3 separate regions of the Homo sapiens genome follow, and all the other regions are linked to region 1. The links are contacts of gene promoters, found by promoter capture Hi-C in human tissues and cell types (Jung and others, 2019). All regions are on one chromosome and are shown on one strand. Each heading gives the region's core, a stretch centred on a gene start or on the middle of the fragment in contact. The rest is flanking DNA. Distances are from core to core; before and after follow the strand shown.

Evidence for each region. The method cuts DNA at HindIII sites, captures the fragments that hold promoters and counts their contacts. A contact is called where the count stands out against the background at its distance.
Region 2: a contact is called between a fragment that was not itself captured here and the fragment with the promoter of KHDRBS3 in region 1, in 1 of the 25 tissues and cell types used here (H1 embryonic stem cells).
Region 3: a contact is called between a fragment that was not itself captured here and the fragment with the promoter of KHDRBS3 in region 1, in 2 of the 25 tissues and cell types used here (dorsolateral prefrontal cortex and hippocampus).

What each region holds. Positions count from the first base shown.
Region 1 is chr8:135,455,654-135,459,880 of GRCh38, forward strand. KHDRBS3 (KH RNA binding domain containing, signal transduction associated 3) reads left to right here and starts at 1,803. Exons shown (of 9, transcript NM_006558.3): 1 at 1,803-2,301. The coding sequence starts at 2,214. LOC101927872 (a long non-coding RNA gene) reads right to left here and starts at 2,322. Exons shown (of 4, transcript XR_002956731.2): 1 at 2,229-2,322. RefSeq lists a silencer at 1,675-1,974. The HindIII fragment of the contact is 4,912 bases long and covers 1-4,227 here.
Region 2 is chr8:135,709,461-135,713,687 of GRCh38, forward strand. No RefSeq gene overlaps it. Among named protein-coding and RNA genes, the nearest start is that of KHDRBS3, 250 kb to the left of the region's middle. The HindIII fragment of the contact is 4,563 bases long and covers 1-4,017 here.
Region 3 is chr8:135,232,793-135,237,019 of GRCh38, forward strand. LINC01591 (long intergenic non-protein coding RNA 1591) reads left to right here and starts at 1,339. Exons shown (of 5, transcript NR_120396.1): 1 at 1,339-1,722. The HindIII fragment of the contact is 3,202 bases long and covers 392-3,593 here.

The DNA of each region.
Region 1 (4,227 bases), core at 553-3,052:
GCAGTGAGGAGTCCACAGATGGGTGTCTGCCCAGCATCCCTGGAGTTACAGCTGAAGGGAAGGCGAGGGAGGCTCAGAAGGCCCAGAGGACAGCCTTGCAGCCGGAAAAAACCCAAAGCAAAGATCAGCTCAGCATTTCCGATAGGCAGAGTGCTGTTTTGGGTATTTCATTATGAGTTAACATATTTATTCTCATGAACTTCTTATGAAATAAGTTTGGTTGTCATCTCCACTTGACGGATGAGGACCCTGAGGTGAAGAAACTTGCCCAAGGTCACAGCTAGTGAGCAGCAGATCCATGATTCCAAATCCAGGCTGTTTAACCCCAGAGGCTTTGCTTTTAACTGTGCCATTTTTCTGCTTCTTGCAAGTTGAGACTGAAGAGAGCCATGAAGAAGACTCTTACTGGGGACTCTGAAATGACACCTTAGCCGGGGGAGGAGTGGAGCCTTGAGAGTGAGGGCAGTTGAGTACTCGGGTCTGGGACTTAGAGCTTCCAAGATTTCTACCACCTCCCACTCCCCTCGGGTTTGTAAAGCTGCCTCCATTTGCATTGGGAGTGCGGGGGGGCTGCCTGGGGGACTGTGGCGATTGTCCTCAGGCTATTGGCTGAGAGTGGTATGCCACTGACTTATTCCTCCAAGAGACATTTCCAGTACCCTCCATCCCTGCCCCCTGTACTACACACTGGTGACCTTCCCCCTCAAAAACAAAACTCAAACTCTGTCCCTGATGCTCATGGTCTACTGAAAACAGAATTACAGCTGTCTGTGAATGACCTCTGACCAAGCTGGGGGGACACAGAGAAGGGACTTGTGACTTGCTTTGCCAGGGAGGTCCTGAGAGGCTGTCCAGGGAAGGTGACATTGAGGCCGGGACTTGAGCTGGCTGTTTGAAGGCAGGAAAAATGGCAGGGCAAGGACTGGAGTCCTTCGCCTTCCTGGGGGACGTTTATTCCACATGCCTCGGGAAATCTGAAATGGCCTTGGAGAGCATTTGCTGGGGGTTGGGGGTGGGCGGAAGGGGACAGAGAGCATTGCCACCGACAGGCGGGGCGTCCCAGGGCCTCTCCCCAGGAGCGGATGAGCTCAGACGCGGCTCACTCAGCTGTGTCCAGGCACAGCCGGTTTATGACCTAAGAGAATGACAACCCAGGAGCAAGTCGGGATGACAAAGACGCCCAGAAGGGCACGCGCTTTTATGTAACCGACCTCTGAGCTGGCGGATCTCAGGAGGTTGGCGCTCTGAGCTCAGGCGCGGAGAAAGGACGGCGCCCCTGCCTTACTCTCTTATAAGTACGAGGGGACAGCAACGCGACATAACTTAGAGAAGTCCAGGAAGCTTTAGAGAGCAGGGCGGTCCCGCTGCTATTCCTCAGAGCGCGACTGGGGCGAACTGGGGCGCCCTTCCCAGCTCCAGCTCGGCCCTTGTCCCCTCTTCCCAGGATCACTCGCTGGGTGACCTTGGGCGAGCCACTTGACTTCTCTGAGCCCCAGTTTCCCAGTCCGTGCATCTGAAAGGCTGTAATAGCGTCGTGGGGCTCCCCACTCGGCCCTCAGGGCCAAAGGTGGGCGCCGGACACGCGGGAGGGGCCCTTGGACGCACCCCCTCTCGCAAACGCCCGGTTAGTCCCGGCGGACTCGCAGTGGAGAGCGGCCCCAGGAGGCGGCGGGCGGCGGGGCGGTGGGCGCCAGTGCGCAGGCGCGGCGCGGCAGGGCGGGGCGGCGGGCGCGGGGCGGGGCGGGGCGGAGCCGGGCGGGGCGGGGCCGGCGGCAGGCGCTGGGCGCTCGGCGCGGTGGCTCAGAGTGCGCGGGGCGGCGCGCGGCGTGCAGGTCGCAGCTGTGGCTCGGGTGCTGGCAGGTGCTGGCGGGACTGGCGGGGATCGCCGTGGACTGCCTCAGGGGCGCCGCAGCCCGCTCGGCCCGAGGGCCCGCCTAACCGCGCCGCCCGCGCCCGCTCCTCCTCGGCCCGCGCCCGGAGCGCGGGGGCCGCCGGCGCTGGGTACTCGGCGGCCACCGGGGATCGGGGCTGAGCGGTCGGTTCCCGCCCCCGTGCCGCCGCCGCCGCCTTCCGGCCGACCGCCCGGCTTGGCCGCTGCTGCCGCGTCTGGCCCCCGGGTCCCCGCCGCTGGGGGCGCGGGCGGGGTCGGGGGTTGCCGGGCGCCGCCCCCCGTGCGCCTGGAGTCCACATCCCGGGCCCGGCGGCCGGCGAGCATGGAGGAGAAGTACCTGCCCGAGCTGATGGCGGAGAAGGACTCCCTGGACCCCTCCTTCACGCACGCCCTGCGCCTGGTGAACCAAGGTGAGGCGCCGGCCGTTAACTGCCGGCCGGCGGCGGTTGGGGGCCGGGTGGAAACGCGGGGGCCCAGGGGGCCCCTCCGTGCCCTCTGCTGTCAGCGGACGCGGCGGAGACGGAGGCCCGGGTGGCCCCCGGGGTCGTTTGCACGGGGACCTGGGAGGCTGTGGGACACCTAGGGGAAGACCCTGATGTGAATTTTGGGGACTTGGAAGGAGAAGGCTGGGGCGCATGGGTGAGACTTGAAGGAAATCTTTGGGGACTCGGGCACACCCAGGGGAAACTTCTGGGTGGGGGACAGCGACCATCTGGGGGCTTCGTTGGGAACGAGGTTGAATTATGTCATGGAAGGGGAGCGTGTTGGACTCGGGGAAGTAGGGCGTTTGGTTTGTCTAAGGTACTGGAGAAAAAGCTGGAGGAAAATGGAAGGACTTGAGGGACTCAAATGCAGAAGAGGTGAAGGGAACAGGTGCTTGCATTGTTAGCGAAGTTTGGGGACCTTGGAAGAGGGTTGGGGTCAGACCCCAGCACCTGAGAGGAGAGGAGCTCCGTGGTCCCAGGGGAGGAGCCCAGTTCCCCCTCCCAGCCCTTTGTCTCTCCTGTGTCCAGGCTCCAACAGCCCTGGCGGGGCAGTCAGCCCTCCCAGGGGATGGGCAGCCCATGCCAAGCCTTGCAGGCTGGCCCTTGGAGAAGTCAGTAGGGGAGAAGAGGCCGGCAAAAGAGCACCGTTCCGGAGGGCGTTGGGTTGGGTGACCCTCATTGGTGGCTGGCTTGAGGTTCGGAATAGTGGTGAAGGGAGTCCTTGCCATTTTCACACGACTCCAGCCAGCTCAGGGTGTGAAAGATCCTAGGAAGTACTGCGGGTCAGGGATACAGAGATTTCTGGAGGCACGCCTACCCGGGACAGTGTTCCCCTGGCTTTTTCCTCCTGTGGCTTCCTGAATCATCTGCTGGCATGCACGGTAAATTAAGCCTTCCTTCCTGGGAGCAGTCTCCTACTTTTCCTGGAATATGTGTTTCAGATGAAGATGGGTGTGGGTGCCACTGGTCTGTCTTTTCTCTGGGAAATGGCAGCAACATGATCTGGTCAGATCTGTTACCTTTTGCAGGAATTACTGTGCACTGACAGTCTGTGGTTCCCTAGATGAATCGGATCTGCTGCTCTTAGTGCTCGCCCTGGCTTTTTTATTGTTGGAAGTGAAAGATGAGGCAGACATATTCTATTTGTATATAGATACCTATATTTTAAAACAGTGACCTCCAGTTTTTGCCTGTTTCAACCAGTTCTTCAGAGTAGAGTGTGTGTGTGGTTGACCGATGGTGGAGGAGAGACTCTTTACTGTCTCCAAGAATTTAAGAATATTTGAATTGTTGAACAGAAATAGACTTATGGAGCTCCCTCATTTTATTTTAATTGCAGGCTTATTTTTATTTCTTTAATAAAATGGGCTTGTGAAAAAGTGAATGGGCATGCATTCCTAAATAAAAGAAAAAAAATTAAGTTTTATTTCTATGCCCTCTGAACAGTTCTGCAGTTGAGTTTGTACTCCTGTGCCTGATGATTTACATGTATCTTTTATTGCCTGCTGGGCTGTCATCTCTGTGAAAGAAATTTCTTCATACATTGCATGAGATCCGTGGCATTGGAAATATTCTGGACTGTGGACTCAAGTGCATTTTTCCTAATAAAGTAGCTGAATCAAAGTTAGGTTGTACTCAATTAAGGAACAGTTAAACTGAAAGTACAGTGCGTTATCTTATTTTAAAAGTCAGAATTATTTTCTCTGCCGTGTTGCCATAGTATTGTGTTGCTAAAACGTCCAAAATTCTTTTGGATTCTGTGTTTTTACCAGTGTTAATGGCTTCCAGTTACTTGAAACAGATATTTACTGGGGAAATGTTGCCATTTAGTGTTTTTTAGGTATTCAACTT
Region 2 (4,227 bases), core at 486-2,985, 250 kb after region 1:
TTAGATGCCTTGCCCAGAGTCACACTGTAACAAGGGATAGAGCTGGGATAGGAGCACCCAGGCTGTCTTGCTCCAAGCCCATGGCCTCTCCTTACTGAAGGGCAGAGGGAGTTGAAGGGGGTGTATGTGACAAGAGGCTCTGACACTCCTTGGGACACTGGGGGATGGGAGCCCACAGTGTCCAGTTGCTGTCCCCGGGACACTGGGGGATGGGAGCCCACAGTGTCCAGTTGCTGTCCCCGTAGAGCACTCTCTTCTCCTACTCTGTCCCAGAGACTCACTCGGTTTTCCTGCCTACTCAGAGCAGCCGTTAACCTCATCTGTCCGTGGCACCCTCTGCCCCAATAGCCCCCGGCTGCAGGGCAGTGTGGCCTCCCAGCAGCCACAGGCTTGTCTCAGCGTATCAAATGCTTATAATTTTACATCATCTCAGTGTCCATTTTTAAATTGAAGCTTAATTTTTTATACCAGAAGCAGGGCTCAGTCCCCGTTGGCACAGTTGTTAATGATATCCCCAATCCAAGTGGCCCCAGGCAATGGCCAGAAATAAAACTGAGAGGTCTGCCTTACCTAGCAGACTGGGCTCCTGGCTCTTCTGCCACTTCCTTAAAGGAACCATTCAGACATTTGCCACCTCTCAGACACAGCGTGACCTCCTAGAAATAGTGCCTGCTTGCTTTAAACCCAGCATTAAAGCTCCCCACGGGAAACCTGTTGGGATAACACCCTGGGCCCAGTGAGGACGTTGGCCCATGGGTCACTCCCACCACCCACTGTGCCGTGCTCCCTGACCTCCCTGTGTGCCTGTGTACGTGAGTATGTGTGAGTGCGTGCATGTGTGTGTGTGGCCTCTATGCATGCTGTGTACTTCCCAGGGTCTGTGAGTACTAAAAATGCTTAAAATTTCACATTGTGGTTGTGTCATTGAAGCTGTGCCCGCCATCTGACCCCTGATGGGGACTCACGCAGGTAGGTTCCTGCTGGCACTCTTTTGTCTGGGCCTCTCAGCTGCTGGCGACAGTAGTTACCGGCTGAGTTGATAATGAAACTCAAAGAGTTTCATTCAAAACACCCTCTTAGTGCCTCGCCCTGGAAGCAGATCAGAAACTAAACTCACAGAATCAGCTGTGGGACACAGTGAATGCCCTGATCACCCCCTGAGAGTCTCATTTCCCGTGGGCCATATGACAATGTTCCAGCCAATGGGTGTGAATGGAAATGCGCAGCCGACCTCTAGGCCACACCTTTTATTCGTTTATATTTATTTATGGATTCATTGTTTTAGAGACAGGTTCTCACTCCGTTGTCCCGGCTGGAGGGCAGTAGTGTGATCACAGATCACCACAGCCTGGAACGCCTGGGCTCAAGTGACCCTCCCATCTCAGCCTCCCAAGTTGCTGGGGCTATGGGCTCGTGCCACTGTGTCGGCTAATTTTTTTTATTTTTAGTAGAGAGAGGGTCTCACTATGTTGTCTGTGCTGGTCTCAAACTCCTGGGCTCAAGCAATTCTCCTGCCTCGGCCTCCCAAAGTGCTGGGATCCTGACAGCCGTGAACCACTGTGCTCGGCCTCTGCATCTTTTAAGAAGAAAATGGCTTGTCTCCCAAGACCTGATTTCCTCCTTCCTCCAGCTGGAACTCAGATGTGGAACAGAGGAAGTGGCTTCAACAGTGCAGGTGAGGTCAGTGCCTGAAAGAAGCAAAGCAAAAAGAGGGAAGGTCCTTGGCGCTGGGATTCCCTGTGGGGCTGAGCAAAGACCCGCCCTGGACCCACACACCTCCAGGCCGTTACCAGCAAGAGAGAGAACTGGGTATTGTTGGACTTCGATATTTTTGGGCCTCTCTTGTAGCAGCTTAGCCTGTCCCTTCAGGAACTCATAATCAGTGGTTTCGAATCTTAACTCGGAACCTTGAGTTATTTTAGTCATTGAAGTTTTCCTTTCCTCAGAGATTGTTTTTAACCTTCCTGCCCAAGTCAGTTTCCATAGTGTGCTTTCTTATTTCCACATACCTCCCTGTCGAAGCACTTATGGTTATAATTTTGCACTTATGGTTGTGCATCTATGGTCGACATCTAGCTTCCCTACTGGGCCTTGAAGACAAAATTTGTCTTTCTTATTTTTGCTTACTCATGTAAGCACCTAATCATGTATCTCAGCACCTAATACAATGATGCCATTACTTTTTTAAAGCATGGATGAATGAATGAATGAATAAATGAGTGAGAGAGGAAGGGAAGAAAAAAGAAAGGACAGAAGGAGGGAAGAAAGGACAGGAGAAAGGAAGGAAGGGAGGGAGGGAAGGAGGGGAGGAGGGAGGATCTCAGTGATTAAAGCTTTCGGAGATGTGAAACCTCAGTTTGGAGTCAGTGTGAGATAGAGCTGGTACATAAGAAGATGGAAATCTTCTGTTGGTGTGCTCATCCCCCCACCTCTGTTTCTCCTAGAAACACCTATAGAAAAAGGGAGCTGTCTTTCTAGAGGTCTTGGGTCCCTGAGATCCAGAGAAAGAGAAAGGACTGGGCACAAAGGGAAGTTGCTGGTGCACTTTCTCGGAATCCTAACAATAACAAGACACCTTATCGAGCATCTTGGAAACTCAGAATCAATCTTCAAGCTGCATTTCATATGCCACCTTCTCCTGGCTCTCAGAGAGCCTTTCTGTCATCCCTCTGTACAGTGCACCTCTTCTTGTATCTTTTTATATCAGCAACTGCTAACTTACAGAAGGCTGGAAGTGTGGGACATTCTTCTGGAACTCTTTGAGAGTCTGTCCCTGACCTGCTGCCATCACCTGTGTGTCCTGTAGTGTGTGTTTCCCACAAACAAGGACATTCTCCTGCATAACCACACTGCATCCATCAAAATCAGCAGGCTGGCACTGATGCATGGCTACATCCCATCCTCAGACTCACCCGAGTTTCCTCAATCGTCCCGGGAACATCCTTTGTATACCAAAAGTATAACCTATTGCTTCAGTTATCACGCCCCTTTAGAATTCTTCTTTCCCTGACTTGGAGGGCCTTAACACTTGAAAATTTCAGGCCAGTCCTTATGTAGAATACTTCTTGCCCCAAACTCAGATTTTCTTGATGTTTCTTCAAGATCAGATCCAGGCCACCAGATTGTTGCCAATATCCTTTGGCAAGGATATTGCAAAAGCAACATGGTGCTTGTGTTGTCCCATCCCTTGAATAAGATAGAATGCCCCGTCCCACTCCACTGTGAAATGTCTTTTCCTTTACAAGTACTAAGTATTATTTGGGGAAGTTACATTCAAAATATGTTCATATTCCATTCTTCAAGATATGTTCAATATTATTTATCAGTATAAACTAGCAGTTTCCTGTTTTATTCTATGAATTATAATCTATTACACTCATTCTGTTGCTCTGGTTTCTCTGATTTGGTCAGTGGGAACCCTGTTAAGTTGGCTCCCATGTCCTATGGACATGTTCCTTTTATTCTTTTTACGCTACTTTGATCTCTGGCACAACATGTGCCAGGGTCATTTTGTACATTCCCTTTCTTAGCCTTGGACATAGGCATGGCTCAAGAAGCCCTGATTCCTTTTAGAAGAGAATGGTGGCTAGAGGCCAAATCAGGATGTGAGGTGTGCTCCTCACTAATGGAGTGTGGCTGCTTCCAGGCGCTGCCATTGGGCATTTGTGTCTATGTCTATTTCTGTATCTATCTGCATAGACTGAAACCATGAGTTGACTGAGGTGAGTGATTTCAATCCACCATCAGAGAATGTATTCTAGCTTTCACCCTTCTGTATTGTAAGTCCTTCTCCCACTGAGAAATCTAGCTTCTCTCCCCCTTCATATATTCACCCATTCAATGAATCCTCCTGTATATGTCAAATCTTCCATGTCTATTGCCACCACCTACCCCACACAGACGCTCCCCTACTCCAGCTTAGGCTCTGAATTCCTCTTCCAGCTACCCCATGCATGGCTGCCCAACTCCCCGTGCCTGGGCTCCAACACTTAACACAGAAGGCATTCAATAAATGCCTGTTGTGTGAGTGAAGGAAGAACATCACGGGTAAAGCACAGAGGGAAGGAGGGAGGAACCAAGTGGGTCAGTACCGCTGGAGCAGGAGCCTAGGACTAGCTTTGGAGCAGGGAAGATGGAGAGGAGAGCTCAGAATTCTGTGGAAAAGAGGCTCTCTGAGTCCTCAGAAGAGTAGGAAGTTAAGAGCCATCTTTTGGCTGGAGGAGAATA
Region 3 (4,227 bases), core at 743-3,242, 220 kb before region 1:
CAGAACTCCTCGAGTTTTGATTTTACCCCATGTGACTGAAGAAAGAGCTTTAATAATGTGCTCACAGTGAGGGACAAGCGTGAATAACTATGGCTGGTTTCCAGACTGCCTTGACTTAGTTTTGCACACATTTGAGTCCAGAAGAGACTCACTAGGTCTCGGCATAATGAAACCAGGGCCTCTTGGTCATCGAATGCCCCTCAGAGCTCTCAGTCTCTCTAAGCAAACTCTGTACAAATTTTTAAATAACACTTCAAAAAAAAGCAGCAGCAGTCTTTGGCTGGGTGCGGTGGCTCACTCCTGTAATCCCAGCACTTTGGGAGGCCGAGGCTGGCGGATCACCTGAGGTCAGGAGTTCAATACCAGCTGGCCAACATGGTGAAACACTGTCTCTACTAAAAATACAAAACTTAGCCAGGTGTGGTGTTGGGTGCCTGTAATCCCAGCTACTTGGGAGGCTGAGGCTGGATAATTGCTTGATCCCAGGAGGTGGAGGCTGCAGTGAGCCAAGATCATGCCATCACACTCCAGCCGGGGCGACAAGATCAAAACTCCATCTCAAAAAAAAAAAAAAAAAAAAAAGAAGAAGAAGAAGAGGAAATGAACCAAACTATTGGTCTGGAAGAAGGTTGCCCAGCTCCATGAGAAACAAAATTGCAGCTCTCTGAGCTCAGGCCTCTGGAACTGCGATCACTTCCATCCCCACTTCAGGACAGCACCTGGCTCAAGACAGCTGCCTGTCCTTACTGGTGGTCACTTCGACAGCCAAGTGCTCCCAGCCTCTTCAGTCATAGGACTTGATTTGGAAACCCATCACCACCCTCCCTGCCCCGCTCTGGCTGTCAGGTTGTCAGGGCTCCTCTCTCCTCTCTGGCATAGCCCAGAACTGAGTACAGCAGACCAACAGGGGAGACTGGCCCAGAAGAGCATGAGGTATCCCATGTTTCCAATGGGATGCTATGCCCCTCTTCATGGTGTCTAACTTTGTAGTTCCTCCAGGACTTCACTTACACTCTGAGTACATAGAGGATCAAAAGGGGAAGTGGCATGTTTTAGTGGAAAAGACAGGTTGTGGCTCAGAAAATTGATTTAACCTCGGGTAAGGCACTTGACAATTCTTGGCCTCAGCTTCATAATTTTACTTACCTGTAAAATAAGAGTTGTTGTGGGAATTAAATGACAGACGGCATGAAAAAGCTTGGCACCTTACCTAATACATCGGATCGGCTCGAGAAATGGTAGACTTCTTTCTGTCTTCTCCTTCCTTTCCTGCCTCCCTTCCTCCCACTCCTTCCTTCCTCTCCTCCTCCAGCCATGTCTCCCTCCCTCCCTCCCTCCCTTCCTTCTCTCCCCCCAAGCCTCCATATTTATTTCCTTCCTACTAAAATTTTCTTCCACATTCCCTCTCATCCAGTCCTCAATGAATCCTGAGGACAGCTATCAGTGGTCACTCTCTTGGGCTTGAAATGGAACAGATCTTCTTGTTCCATCTCTTTCTGATAGCGCCAGTTCCTGCTGAGGACAGAACATTGTCTTCTTTTCTCCCTGCCTCAGGCAGATGGCAGGGAGTGTTGTGTGTTCCCACAAAGGAGCGTGCTGTCCCCGCTCCCGAGTCTCTCAGCGAGCCCTGTCATGGAAGGCATCCAGGAGAATGTGGAACTCCGCACCCGCTTTCTCAGAACAGAGGAGCATCCATGACCCTCAGAATCACAGCATTGAGAGGTACCACAGGATGGGCCCCATGTTTGAATGGTCTGTGCACTAGGGACCGAGACCCTGAGGACAAGCCTGTGATTGGTGAGAAGTCCTGCACATTGCACACTGTGCTTCAGCTGATGGGGGCGGCAGGACTGATTGTCATTGTCCCTACTTTACAGACTAGAAAACTGAAGCTCAGACGGGCTTAGCAATTTTCCCCAAATTACACAGTAGTTAGGAGGTAGACAAAGTTTGCATGCCTGGTCATGGGAATCCAAGTTCAGTGTTCTTTCATTATGATGTTTTGCCTCTGCATATTAAAAAACAAAAAACAAAAAACAAAAAAAAAAAACATGAATTTTCAACTGAATGTAGGTAAATAACCCAGGAACTTAATTATATTTTTTTCCTTCTGGTTCTGGCTTTGGCTTAGCTTCTACCTGAGAATCAACCTCTCCCTACAACAACTGTTTCTTCTTTTCTGACATTCTATATTCTTTTTTTTTTTTTTTTTTTTTTTTTTTTGTGACTGGGTATCACCCTGTCACCCAGGCTGGAGTGCAATGGCTCACTGCAACCTCTGCCTCCTGGGCTCAAGTGATCCTCCCACCTCAGTCTCCCAAGTAGCTGGGACTACAGGCATGCACCACCATGTCTGTCTAATTTGTTTTTGGTAGAGATGGGGTTTCACTATGTTGCCCAGGCTGGTCTTAAACTCCTGGGATGAAGCAATCCTCCTGCCTCAGCCTTCCAAAGTGCTGAGTTTATAGGCACAAGCCATCACACCTGGTCACATTCTACATCTTTGTTGGGGGCTGCACTATGGACCCATTATTCACGCAAAACCTGGCAATCATCCTGAACTCTTACTACTCCTAACCCGTGCCCCACTCCCCGCCGGTCGCCAATGCTCTCCTTGCCATGTACAATCAATGCCAGGACCTGTACCTTTGACTTAACAAATACCTCTTGCATCTGCCCCTCCTCCCTGTACCAACTGTGCCCCCATTCACTGCTCTGCCCCAGGCTCTTCCTCACCCAGTAAAGTGCAATGACCTTGAACAGTTTGCCTTTTTAAAGGTGTTTTCTGTAAATCTATGCTCCATGCATTGGTGGGAAGATCTTTCAACACCACAATGGATACGTTCAGTGGCCACTCAGTTCCTCAAAGAAGCAACTGTTTATGAAAAAATGTGCCTGAGCCAGGCATGGTGCCACAGTCTTTGCAAGCAATAGCTCTAAATCACAAAGTAACTCTACAAAGGAAGCTTTGTTATCCCAGTTTCACAGCTGGAAAGTGGCAGAGCTAGACCTCCAACACAGATCTGTCTGACTGCACAACAGTGCTCTCTTCATACCCCACACAGCCTCCCAGATAAAATCTTGTCTCCTTAATATCAGTTGCAGCCCCCGTCTCCTGCCTCCAGACACCTCTCACGCCCTGCTTTCCAGACACATCCCCCTTCCTGAAGTTCACTCATCTCCTGACATGGTTTTGTGTTCCATGGCTCCATTTGTGTTCTTCCCTCTGCCTAGGATGCCTTCCTCTGTCCAACTGTCCCCTCAAGCACCACTCAGCCGCAAGACTAAGGTTAGAATCCAGGATTATCTCACTCCGATCTCTTCTCCTTCCCATTGCAGAGCCCTGTCTCCCACATGGACAATTTTCACTTCATTCTAGGTTACGATGCTGTAATTGGCATGGACCAGGATGGAGAAACGCCACCAGGGAATGCTTCAGTTGGTAGTTAATATAAAGGGATAGGTCTCTGTTGGCTCTTTGTGGAAAATTATTTCAAGAGTTGATTTTTAAATGTAAGGGAAACAGGACTTTATTCCCTTGTCAGACTAATTACTGCACTCCTGAGTCATGCTGATGAGATGGCTTCAGAAAAACAACAGTTCTCCCACTGAGCCATAGGTCAAGGGGTTCTGGGTGTTTTCACAGAAGGTTATTGTTTTCAAGGGGGTTATTGATGGGCTGGAGTGTGAGGTTTCTTGAGGAATAAAACTATCACAATTAATCTGTTTAGAACTTCTGTATGGGGAGAGGGTGTTATTCCTCAGCAGTGAATGACTCAATGAAAAACAGAATATTCGTGGTACATGTGCTCCATGCTGTCAGGCTTGTCAATACCAAGTTTGAAGACAAAAAATAAAATAAAATAAAATAAACAGAAAAAAAGAAGGCTTTTTTTTAAGTGATTAAGGATGAAAGTGCTGGCTGCTGACCTAGGCCTCTGTGAATTTAGAACCCAAGATGATCCCAGCTGTGTGATGGGGCAGGACCCTTAGTGTGGGAGCTGGGCTCTGTCCCTCACATGTGGGTAGATTGTGAGACCCATATAGAGTCAGGGGACCTGAAGCTGGGTAGGGTCTGCAGCTGAGCTACTGGGGACTTTCTGGTGTCTCTTAGCCTCCCTAGGACCCACATTCATTTTCTATAAATGAGATTTGAGCCAATTCACTGTCTTCCTAATAATCACTGTTTTCTTGTAATCACACACCACTGTTCTCTTAAAGCTTTTC